Linked DNA regions of Homo sapiens: region 2 is linked to region 1. The links are contacts of gene promoters, found by promoter capture Hi-C in human tissues and cell types (Jung and others, 2019). All regions are on one chromosome and are shown on one strand. Each heading gives the region's core, a stretch centred on a gene start or on the middle of the fragment in contact. The rest is flanking DNA. Distances are from core to core; before and after follow the strand shown. Region 1 has its middle 41 kb from the start of ZFHX2. Region 2 holds the start of IL25 (interleukin 25).

The links. Contacts are between HindIII fragments. The study calls those that stand out against the background at their distance.
Region 2: a contact is called between the fragment with the promoter of IL25 here and a fragment that was not itself captured in region 1, in 1 of the 25 tissues and cell types used here (hippocampus).

The regions. Positions count from the first base shown.
Region 1 is chr14:23,507,810-23,514,078 of GRCh38, reverse strand. It overlaps a transcript of THTPA not described here. Among named protein-coding and RNA genes, the nearest start is that of ZFHX2, 41 kb to the left of the region's middle. The HindIII fragment of the contact is 5,147 bases long and covers 1-5,034 here.
Region 2 is chr14:23,370,073-23,376,341 of GRCh38, reverse strand. IL25 (interleukin 25) reads right to left here and starts at 3,533. Exons shown (of 3, transcript NM_172314.2): 1 at 3,367-3,533; 2 at 2,946-3,166; 3 at 1-717. The coding sequence starts at 3,375. The coding sequence ends at 462. The HindIII fragment of the contact is 4,168 bases long and covers 118-4,285 here.

The DNA.
Region 1 (6,269 bases), core at 1,212-3,711:
CATGGGCAGTGCCAGCACCCACCCACCTCACATCTGGTCCTCTTGCTGTCTCCTTCAATACTCTGACAAAGGGCCAGATTGCCAGCCCCAACAAGTTCTCCCTGGGTACGGTGGCACACTCCCTCCTCCCTGGCTCGTAGACTGTTTCTTGGCACTTCCCTGGCTACTCTCTCCACCACTTTACTTCCTCAAGCTGGAAGAGCACTAATCACCTCATACTCCAACCATTTTTCAGAGCTGAGCTTCTAGAGGGACAGCAACATCAGAAACACATTCTGCCCCTCCTCCCTGCTTCCTGGATCCCCCAGTCTCCATTGCCCCAGTTCTGGGCACCGGCCTGACAGATGTGATGCCAACAGCTCCCATGTACAAAGCCTTCCTCCCAGAGCACAGGACTCCTGCCGCTGCGCCCTCCACTCGCCTCCTCCCATCTCCGTGGGCACAAGGGTGGCAGCTACAATGCCAATGCCTGTAAGCAGGCAGCATGAAGCAACTCATGCACCCTCTTCTCCCCTCCCAGACCCCAAGCCTCTCCCCTCCTTCTTCCACTCCATCCCTCTGTCCTTCTGGTTGTACACTAGATTGGCAACCGCAATGCCAACCCCCACCCATGCCCAGGAGGCTCACATACAGCACACGCTTATGCGTACATGTACATGCGCGCACACACACATACACACACACACGGCCCCATGAGTGCCAGGCAGCGGTGGCAGACACACAGCAATGCACAGTGACTGGTACCCGAGGAGGCAGCCGGATTCAGCACCTGATCCAGCACCCGTTTGGGATTGGGTGGGTAGGCGGGCGGGCGGAGGGGTGATGGAGGCAGACGATGGCCCTAGGTTGGCAGCCGATGGAGCTGGGAGAATGGAGGGAACAGATGCTCTTTGCCCAGCCTCCCTCCCTCTCTCTCCCCGAGATCAGTGCCAAGCTGGGGGGATGGGGAGAGGGGAGGATGGGGGAAGGGTGGCATTTGGAGAGCTGGCAGGCGGAGGGAGCTGGGTCCGCCCAGGCTGGGCAGTGCCGGCACTGGCTGCTGCCTCTCCACTCTGCCATCTGTCTCGCTTCTCTCCCCACCCACTTTCTCTCTTTTTCTCTCTCTCTCCTTCATCCACAGCAATACGAAAAGAGGAAAACAGGGTCCTCATTCCACCCACCCCCAACCTCTGCCAGACCCCCCTCTTTTCCTCCCCACAACTCACCACACCATACCACCACCAAGCCATCTGTGCTCTCCTCCTGGCTCAGTCACCTTCTTTCACTCGCCTTCGCCCTCACACCAGAACGGGTGCAATTTAAAATATATATATATATATGCATATATACATATATATGCATATATATATACACACACACACACACACATATATATTTTTTAAAGCAACTTAAAAGAAAAACTCTTTTCTTTGGGAATATCCTATCCTTCTGAGTCTGGGTCCTCAGTACCAATATTTATGGCAGGCAGAGGGAGGGGACCCCGTTCTCAGCTGGTGCCCATGAATCCCATGCCAGGGAGGAGGGGTGGCTGGGGTGGGGTGGGGGTGGGGTGAGGTGGGGTATCGGGAGAGCTCGCTTCTCTCTGCGCCTGTGGTTGTTTCTTTTTTTTCTCCTCTTCTACTTCCGGAGCAGATTCAAATAGATCTAGAGCCTTCCCCACCCCCAGCCGCACAGCCCCAGTTCCCAGGGCCCCTGTGCCCTTCCCTGCCTGCTTTTGATTCCTCGATCACCCTTTCCTTTTTGTGTGTGTGTGTATACGTGTGCGTGCGCGCAAGTGTGTTTGCATCCATGGCGGTGGGCACTGTGCCAGCCACCGCACAGCCATCTGCGATGCCTTCTGCAACCTCTGCTATTTCTCCCTGTCACCTCCAGCCCCCAACCCCCTGCACCCCAGCTCCCCAGCCCCCAGTCCCCAATCATTAATTAGCTACTGAATTAATTAAATCGTGGATGCTAATTAACATTCCTACAGGGCAGGCTGCCAGGCTGGGGGTGCAGAGGGGATGTGAAGAGAAGTAGAGATTGGGATGGGGGAGGAGGAAGGAGAGCCAGTCTTCTTAGAAGAACAGCGGGGAGGGAAAGAGAACCCAAAAGAAGGATGAAGGAGGAAGAGAGCTGAGTGGTGATGGACAGGTTGGGGCGGGGGAAGGAGGAGAATAGACATGGAAAATGGGGTATAAAACTGCAGTCCAAGTGAGCGCCACCGAGCCTTCTTACCCAAATTAAGACTCAGCCAGTTCCTTGTCTTCAAGCTCATTTCCCCACCCCAGCCTAGAGAAGTATATTCCTCAGGCAGCTGACTCCAACAGTTGCTTCTCCTATAGAAAACCAACCCCAAACCAGGGAGTCAACAGCTACTATTTGTCAATTCAGCCACACTGACCCTCAGACCAGGTCACCAAGAGAACACTCTGGGCTCAGAGGGGTCCCTGTTGACTTGCCCTTGTCTACCTCTCTGTCAAGGGGAAGGAGCATTCTAGGAACATCTGCTGCAGGGAGACATGGGAGATCAATATAGGGAAATGTGAGGGTATCAAATCAATGGGAATTATTAATAGCAGAGAATCGCTGACAGTGCCTGTAAGACTGCCTTAGGAAGACCACAACATAACACTGCCTGCCTTTGCAGTTCCAGAGTAGGAAAAGTGTGTACTCTTACCTACCTCAAAAGTCAGGAATTTAGGAATAAGTCAGTAAGGGCTATCTAACTTTGAGTTGTTATTTTTTTAAAAAGGAGAGAGATGCCAGTATAGTGAAACTTCTTCCTGGGTGTGCTCTGTGAAACATTAATCTGATGAAATGCTCCTCAAGAAAAAAAGGACCCCCCAATCAAATTAGTTTGAGAAATACTGCATATTCCCTCTTTTAAGAGATTCACAATGTATGCTGGTATGTTAAAGGCTCTGAGGAGCTGGTTAAAAAACCCAAATGGTTGATCATGTTTAACCCACTAATTCTCAAACTTATTTGGCCATAGAGGCCTTACTTTTTAAGTTTTATTTTTATTTATTTATTTATTTATTTATTTATTTTGAGGTAGGCTCTTGCTCTGTCACTCAGGCTGGAGTGCAGTGGCATGATCACAGCTCACTGCAGCCTCCAACTCTTGGGCTCAAGCAATCTGCCCACCTCAGCCCTCCAAGTAGCTGAGACTACAGTTATGTACCACCAGGCCCAGCTAACTTTCAATTTTCAATTTTAAATTTTAAATTTTATTCCCACAGAAGCAGTATTCTGCTTTGTGGAAAGCCCTATCAAGTAACTAGGGCTGGTTCTGACCTGGAAGCTGGCAGATGGATAAGCCGTCCCCACCCAGGTCAGCAGCATCCTAACAGTCCATGAACAAAGGGACAGCAGTGAGGCTGTCTTTCTAATGTAGGAGTAATACAGGAAAGTACCAAACCAGCTCATGGGGTGCGGAAATCATATCACAGACCTATACCCTTTGCCTTCACCCCATCTTTGGAACCCTGCAGCATCTATCTTCCCCTGGAAAGTCTATTCTGTATCCCTGTAGGGGTAGGGGATGGGAGAAGGAGTTTGTGTTTTTCAAAATCTCCCCTCAGTGTTCCTGATATCTTGGATTCAGAACTTCAGTTCTAAGCCATCTCTGCTCTCTCTTCTAAAACATCCTTCACTATAGACCATTGGCATCAACACAAAGCTTCTATTCCTATTACCTCCTCAATCCCATTCTGGTCCAGAAACTACAAATGTCTCCTGGGACATCTCCTGCTGCATCCCTAGCAACCTTCCCTTTTCCTGTCCTCACTTAGGCATCTGGAGTCCCTGAGGTCACTTAACCTCTCTATCAGAGTCCTCAAGAGGATAGGCTGTCTGAAACCTGCAGGGACATATGACTCACCTTAATTTTAAATTTTATTCCCACAGAAGCAGGTTCCACTTTGAGGAAAGCTTGTCAAGTGACCAGGAGTGGTTCTTTAGCTCCTTGAGCTTCAGAACATCTACCCTCATGATGACTGGCCTCCCCCTGCCATAATGAGCCCACCTTTCCTTGCATGGCCCTTTGTGGAGCTGAAGAACAATGGTAATAGGTGGAGACCAGCTCATTTTAATAAGAATATTACCAATTTTTTTTCACTTTCTGGGTCCTATTGTTGGTCCCATCCTACGTCATACCCATGCTCCCAGTGTACAACCCCCCCCAACAACTTAACAAGAGTGATGACTCTTCACAAGAAAACTCACCATACCATTTCAAAGACAGAATAGCTTTAAAATACAAATTTGATTTGCCATATTTCCAGGTGATAAGGTCCCTCCAAACTCTGAAAGCCTATCAATGTCCCAGCTGACCCCATCTCCTCCCTCCCTCTCTAAAGCCTCCTGTAGAAGTCCCAGACTCCTGACAGCCTATGGCACAGGAATGACAGAGCCATTTCAGAGTGTGACTCACTGTCCCACCTGCTGACTACTCCTCTAGCTGAGGAACCATAGGATAAAGGGGCACAAAGTGAAGTCACTCACCTAACCAGAGTCTAGAGGCAAAACCTAAATGTTCTCAGAGGACACATTTTTTAAAGAAAGCATTTTAGGGCTGCTTTTATCATTGGGTGACATCTTTGATAAATTATCCCCTCAGTGGTCAGTGAGAGAAGCCAATACTCAGTTTGCCAGGGTTGTAGATTCCATCCTGGTTCACTTTCTCTTCTAGAGCCTGTTTTATCTCTCCAACACTCAGATACTGAGCAGTTGTCAGTAGCAGAGGCACTCCAGAGCTGCAATATAAATGATGATTATTATATTATCAAATAACATTGCCAAGCCTGGCTGGCTCCCTATAACAGTGATGGTAGAGGTGAGCTACAAGATTCAGTATTGATAAACTGTATATTGTCTTCTGGAACCATCATTCGGCCTGACAGCCACTCTCCAAGCCTCCCACCATTAGCAGCAAAGAAGCAGGAGAGACTACTTAGTGGTGGCCCTTGGGGGATGGGGAGGCTATGCAGGAGAAAAAACAGAGAAGGCCAGGAAACCTTGAGGAAGATGAAAAGTCCTCAGCATCCACCACTTCTACATCCCCCCTGCAACCCGAACCAGCCTACTCCAACCTTTCAACCTAGATATGCTCCACACCTAGGGCCGCTGCACTAGCTGTCCTCTGTGCCTGGTATGCATGTCCCTGGATAACTGGGTGGCAAGCTCCCTGTCCTCCACCTGCTTGTTGCTCACTGAGGCCTAGCCTGACAACTCTATTTTTCTTTTTTTTTTTTTTTTTTTTTTTTTTGAGACAGAGTTTTGCTCTTGTTGCCTAGGCTGGAGTGCAATGGCACGATCTCAACTCACCACAACCTCCACCTCCCCGGTTCAAGCGATTCTCCTGCCTCAGCCTCCCCAGCAGCTGGGATTACAGGCATGAGCCACCATGCCTGGCTAATTTTGTATTTTTAGTAGAGATGGGGTTTCTCCATGTTGGTCAGGCTGGTCTCGAACTGCCGACCTCAGGTGATCCACCCGCCTCGGCCTCCCAAACTGCTGGAATTACAGGCGTGAGCCACTGCACCTGGCCCTGACCACCCTACTGTAGCTTACCCCCAACCCAACCCCTTTACCCTCCTCTATGTTTTCCTTTTTCCAAGCATTTATTACCTTCTAACATACTACATAATTTAGCTATTATGTTTATTGTTTATTTCTATTTCTCACCTCTGGTATGTAACCTCCACAAGGGTAGGGATCTTTGCTTTATTCACAGATATATCCCAAGCACCAATAATGGTGCCTGAAATAAAGGAGGTGCTCAATAAATATTTGCTGAATGAACAAAGCTAAGTATAGAATGGTATATGTTTTGGTCAGATCCATCTGATTAATTCCATCATTAAGGCTGAGCACAGGGAGAAATGGGTCATTTCAGTGTTCTCTACCTACTGGCAAGATGGCTGGTAAACACTCTACATCCTCCTCTGTCTCCACCACGGCCTCAAGAACATACTAGTCAGGAGAACCTGGATGTTTCAGTGGGATGTTTTCTGGAACTCCAAGCACCTTCCCAACTTGCACTCAGTGGGGTTGCTTAGTCCTCCTCCACAGACTTCAGTCCCCTATTCCAGGCTATCCCAGGTTAAATACAAACTTCTAGAGCCATGGTTCTCCAACTTGAGTAAGCATAAGAATAACTTGATAAGCTTGCTGACAATGCTTATTCCCAGACCACGTTTCACAGACTCTGATTCACTAGGGCAGAGGAAGGACCCAGAAATATGCATTCTAATAACTCTCCCCATCCACAAGGTATTTGTAGT
Region 2 (6,269 bases), core at 2,284-4,783, 140 kb after region 1:
CAGAATCATCCATGTCAAAAGACTAGTAACTACACTAGAATGCACCCAAAGTAGATGCTCACTGAGTGATGAGTAAACAAACAAATAAAACCAGGGGCTCTTTCTTCTCCAGCAAGGGGGAAATATCTAGAAAGTGCCTGTGCTGGGCCAGGGTAGCAGGGGATGGGAAAAGAGGAAGAGACAGGAGTGGTGGCCTCCAGAAATGGGCAGAACTTTGAAAACCTTTCCTGAGAGAAAATGACAGGACACCAGCTTCCGGCGGCCCTAAGCAGCAGCTGCTCTTTTCAAAATGTGCAGAAGTGCAGGCTTTCCCCAAAGCCCCCCATCCTGTCCCGGGATCCTGCTGCTCCAGACAGCACTTCACAGGGGCCAAGCATCTGGGCATCCTGGCCCTTCATGGCAAGTGGTTGTACACCTGGCTCCAGGTTTCCCAAAAAGGGACCAGCCTCCAGCAGGTCCGGCTAGCCCATCACACGGGGCCGCACACACACACAAGCTAAGGAAACACGGTACAGCCTGCGCTCCAGGCAGTAGCCCTTGTGGGTGCCCTTCTCGCCATGGCATGGCCGCCGGTAGAAGACAGTCTGGTTGTGGTAGAGCAGCTCCGAGTTGCCCCGGGGGTCCATGTGGGAGCCTGTCTGTAGGCTGACGCAGTGCGGGCACAGGCAACGGGCGTGGTACAGGTCCTGGGGGAGCCGGTTCAAGTCTCTGTCCAACCTGTGGGGGCGGCACTTGTCAGGCCTTGGAAAGATGGGCCGGAAACAGAGAGGGTGGGGTGGCATGGGAGTGCCAGAAGAAGGAAATGGTCCGTCTGGGGCCTTGGCCTCTTGTCTCAGTTCTGAACCCACTTGCTGTGTAACTTTGAACAAGTCACCTCCCTCCTTTATTAAATTTTCCCCACTGTAAATGAGGGTAGCAGGTGACAGAGTGCTTTCCAACTGGTCCTGGGACCGTGAGGGAGGCAGGGGAGGGTGAGCAGGCTCCTGCCTTAGCCTCCATTGACCAGCACTGCTTCTATCTGACTCAGCATGAGGTTTCTTATTGTAATGATTACACTTTAGGTGTTTTTGTTTGTTTTTTGATTTTTTGTTTTTGTTTTTTTGAGACGGAGTACCCAAGCTGGAGTGCAGTGGCACGATCTTGGCTCAACTGCAACCTCTACCTCCTGGGTTCGAGCGATTCTCCTGATGCCCGCCACCATACCCAGCTAATTTTCATATTTTTAGTAGAGATGGGGTTTCATGATGTTGGCCATGGTTGGCCAGGCTGGTCTTGAACTCCTGACCTTAGGTAATCCACCCACCTCGACCTCCCAAAGTGCTGGGATTACAGGCATGAGCCACCGGGCCGGACTTTAGGTGGTGTTTCTATTATTATTATAGCATTATTGCAAAAGTAAAAACCACTCTGACATCCAAGTATTAAAGAGTATAAAGAGTGAAAGTTAATAGTCTCTCCCTACCAGCCCCACTCCCCAGAAGAAGCTATCCTCAACTATTTCCTGCACATTCTTCCAGACGCTGTGCAAGCTTATATTATAAGCATACTTGAGAGTGCATGGGAAGACTTATTTACTTATTCTGAAAGGATTTCATGGCAAAAAAAAAAAAAGAAAGAAAGAAAGAAAGATGAAAAACACTGAAAAGTAGATGTCCCACAGGTCTGCGACTCCATTAGTCTGGCAGGCGACAGTCTCCAGCTTGTGGGACCATTCCCCACACAGACAAGCCCTGGCAAATGGAATTAGCTAGCACATCACTTCCCAAAGTGGGTTCCCTAATAAATCACCTGCACCTGTTGGGTGCTTAAATGAATTTGGGAAACACCAGTTTAACGGTTTACTTTCTACAGACTTCTTGCAGACTTTAATGTACAATGACAGTATGAATCTCCAAGGGGTAGGAGATACAGCAGTCTTTCCCAAGTTTACCTGGCATCACTTTTTTCTGAGAAGCAGCTCATGGGATGAGCATTGCACAGAACACACTTTGGGGAAAGCCACCTGAGTGGTTCTCGGGTTCACAGACTCCCAGCAAGGGGTCTGGAAGACAGCTGAGTTAACCTCTGGCACCCGCCTCCCCTAAGAAGCTCCCATGCCATCTGATTTGGCCCAGGACCCAGCCAGCTTCTGAGACCACTCCAAAGAGTCATGACCTGTAGTGTCCACACTAGATCCAATCTCAGTTAGATCTGACCCCCTCCCCACCACTGAACTTCTCCATCTACCCCCAAAGCCAATGCTAAGACAGAACTAGAAGGAAGAAGTGAAATCACATGTCTGGAATCCCTAAGACCCTAGTTTTTAATATTTTGCTTCATCATTCATATTTCAGCACTTCCTAATATTTTTCATATCATGGCACAAATAGAGAACTATAATATTTATGTGGCACACTGAGTGAAAGAATACAGTACCCATGATCATGATCAAAGATATCCAGTCCACAGCTCCAGCCAGCCAGCTGCCCCCAAAAGTTAAGGGTTTCACTCCTTTAGTATGCTTATAACTAACCCATTCATGGCCAGGGCAGTATCAATTGGTATTGGGATGCTTCATGCCTGTATCATGCCATTATTCCCTAATATTTTACCCAGAAAAAACATGGGCCATTATAGGGATGTTTTAAAAGAAAAGGAGAGAACCAACATAAATACAGACTTTTACATACATTATATTTCATTTGATCTGCACATTAGCCTATGGGGCATTATATCATTTTGCAGGTGAAAAAAAAAAAAACCCTGAGTTTTGAAAACTTGAATTGACTCAAGATCATCCAATGAGAGTCAGAGCTAGGACTCAAATACAGACCTTGTCTAACTCCCAAACCTTTACAGCCCCTCTGAGATCAAAATGGGAAAGTAAGCTGGAATTGCCCTGGTCCCTCACGCATACCCTGGCCAGCACACACAGGGCAGGCATTCGGGAGGGGCAGCAGACTCACTCATATCTCCAGGGGGAGATGGCCCTGCTGTTGAGGGGTCCATCTTCACTGGCCCTACAGGACTCTGGGTGGCGGTTGGGCCTAGCAGGCTCTAGGGGAGGCACAGGCACAGTGCTCCACCTCAGCAGCTCCTCAGAGGTGTCCTGCCCTTTGCTGGGGCAGCAGCTGGGCCAGTGGCTGTAGGTGTGGGTTCCCATGACCATTGCCAAGAATGCAACCACCTGTAGGAAAAGGCTAATGAGAGAACTGTCCTCACCTAATCTGGGTCGCTCCCTCATCTGCACCCTCCCCCTGGGATCCCAGTTTCTCACTCCACTTGGCCCCCAGCCCCAAACCTGGCAGCTTGGCCTCCCTCCACCCTCAGCAGCATCTCTGCTCCTCTCCCTCTCAGCACAGCCCTCAGGCAGCCCTCTGCACTGACCTGGTACATGCTGGGCACTGCACACTCAGTCACAAGTGGGGCACTGACTGACAGGCCTCGTGGAAGCAGGCTGACTGGAGCAGGTTAGGAGTCCTGATTTTATTTTCAGCAAGCCTGTTTTGTTTATTCAAATTTATTTCCACTGTCTTTTTAGGGAGTGACTTGAGGTTAAAAAACAAAACCAAAAAAACTCTGAAAGTATTTCCAAAGGCTGCTTAAAATGCAATACTCATGGAAGTTGTGATGACCATCATTATATGCCTGGTAGCTGATTGGGTAAACTTTGCTCTTTGAATTTTTCTGGCCATGGGGTCAAAGCAATAACAGTCTGCTGTTCTGCATTCTTGTGAACTGGCATTAGCGGGATTTCCCTGGTTGGTTTGGTAGCCAAAATTAGGAAATGTCTTGTGGCCTCCCTTCAAGAGGCCTCGTTTCCATGATCCCTGCTCCCCCCATCCAGGGTCTGGTTTCACCATTCCCCTCTTCCCAGGTGTCCCTCTGATCATCCACCTTCGTGATTATTTCCTTTCCCTTAGACATCCTTTGACTCCCATCCCCTTTGTTCTCTGACCTCTTCCACATTTTCAATGACCCCAAAATTCTATGACCCCCATCAGCTATGACTTCTCCCCCATTGTCCATGACCCACTCCCTAACTCCCCCTTGCCCTCGCCAGTCACTGCCCCCCACCGGGGATACAAGCCTACCCTCACAGGGCTGCTGGAAGACCCTGACTTCCTAAGTTTGTTGGCTGGATGGGCAAGGTCTGATGGAAGAAGCTGTGGGTGAGTGTCCCCATTGCACAAATGAGAAGGTGAAGCAAGGAAGAGGAGGGAAACTGAAACAGCCTCACCTAAGACCCAACAGGAAGGAGGTCTCAGTTCCAGGAACCAACCTGCTCTCATTCACAGAGCCTTGGGGACCAAGCCCATGACAGGGTCAGCTACTGCTTTCAGGCCATGAAGTGAGCCCACTCAGCCTCAGCAGGTCCAGAAACATGGGCCACTGTTAGCCAGGAGGGTGTATGTGTGCCCCAGAAAGGCTTACAGTTGGGCTTGACCCCAAAGACACAGGTCAGCCGGGTCCAGCCTGCTTGGGAGACACTGTGCTGAGAGTGGGCCAGTGTGTCCTTCCCCCCAGGTCCTTCTCTTCATGCTTGCCTATTGGCCTGCCTCATCCCCCATACGCACCCAACATACCCATACACAGACATTGCCCCTAGAATGATGTGGCTTGATTTGCATGTGCTTTCCCTTAGAAAATACTCCTCTAGTAACCAAGGACTAGGAAATCAACAAAGGGAACCAGGAATAACTTAAACTGCAGTGAGAGGAATCTTTCCAATGCGTTAGGGCAAAGCAGCCCCAAAAGAGAGAAGTGATGAAGTCAAAGGGCAATCTGGAAAATTGGGAGAAACTGCTCTGCTCTGATGAGTCTTGGGGCACCTGGAACTGTGGGATGGAGGGCACTTAGAAGAAGCAGGTGGTGGCTGGGAAAGCAGGGGCACTCAGGAACAGTGATGAGGCCAGTATCATGGCCCCACTCTCACTGCCTCACCCTCTGCCCCCAGTACTCGCAGACGTCCTCTCCCTTCCATATCCTGCTGGCCTCAGCTCCTGTGCACTTACATGTGCCAGGCATGGTGCTAAGCCCTGGGCATGCATCATCTCATTTTATCCCGACAATGAAACCATGACATGGAAACTATTATCCCCATGTTACAGATGAGGAAACTGAGGCCCAAGGAAATTTAGTAACTTACCCAAGATCACAAAGAAAGAGGCTGAGCTGGTTTCCCATTCCAGCTCTGACCAATTCCACATGTAACCTCCTGGCATGGAAGTGCCACACCGTGCCTACCCCTAGTTGGCTGTGAATGGAAGGGGAGCCCCACAGTGAATGCTTTCCTGCTCACCTGGGCTTGGGTTGGGACAAGTTTCAACTGCACCTGCTGAGGGCCACAGGGTGTGTCTGCCCACTTAGGTATCCAGCCCTGCTGTTCGGATTCACTGCACTAGCTCCCTTTCCTAGCCTTTTGTCTGGCAGACATGGCCTCAAGGTGGCTTCCCGTGCTCCTGGGAAAACCTCAATCCCAGAACAGGATCTTAGGAGGCAGTGCCGTTTCAGAAGAGCTGGATACCTATGGGTCTCGCTCTCACCAATCAGAACCTCAGGGCTAAGAAGGTAGTAGAAATGGAGTTGGCTCAGATCTCCTATCTTGACCCTTGCCCAGGAGGGGGTGTTCAAAGGAGCCAGAAGTGATCCCAACTACCTGTTTCACTTGCTGACGCTGCAGGGAGGACCCAGCCTAGGTCACCAGGAACGTTGCCCTTCAGAAGAGTCCTTTGGGGTGTCCCTCTAGGACAGAGGGAGAAACCCTCCAGGAAGGGTTGGCTTTTCCCACCCCCATGATGACCAGGACTGACCTGAGAACCTGTGCTCTGAGCCACATGCCCCCACCCCACCCCACTTGCTCACCCTCTGTCCTTATCTCAGTAGCAGCTTTGTGGGACTCCTTAGGGTGACTCCCTGTCATGAGAAACATTTTCCAGTGGGGTTTCCTCCTGAGGTGACTAGTTTTGGAATCCCTGAGTCACTTCAGCTTCCAGGGAACCCTTGGGGGTGTGAGGATAGGGGGGTGGCAATGGGGAGAAGGCTGGAGGCAGGAACAAAGGAAAGTCTGCATGGCACATGACATCAAGGTCCCCTCCCAGCACGTCTTCACCTGCCTAGGCCTGACCTGGCAGTTGAAGAGAGCTTCCTGGGATTCCTGTCCCTGTGGCCCTGAGGAAAGAGAGAAGCACCTGCTAGGAAAGGGCAGGGAAGATGTGGTGGAATACACTTCCCAATCTTGGCTTGGAAAGGCTCTTGGGGCTTACAGAAAGTGAGAATATGTCTTCCCC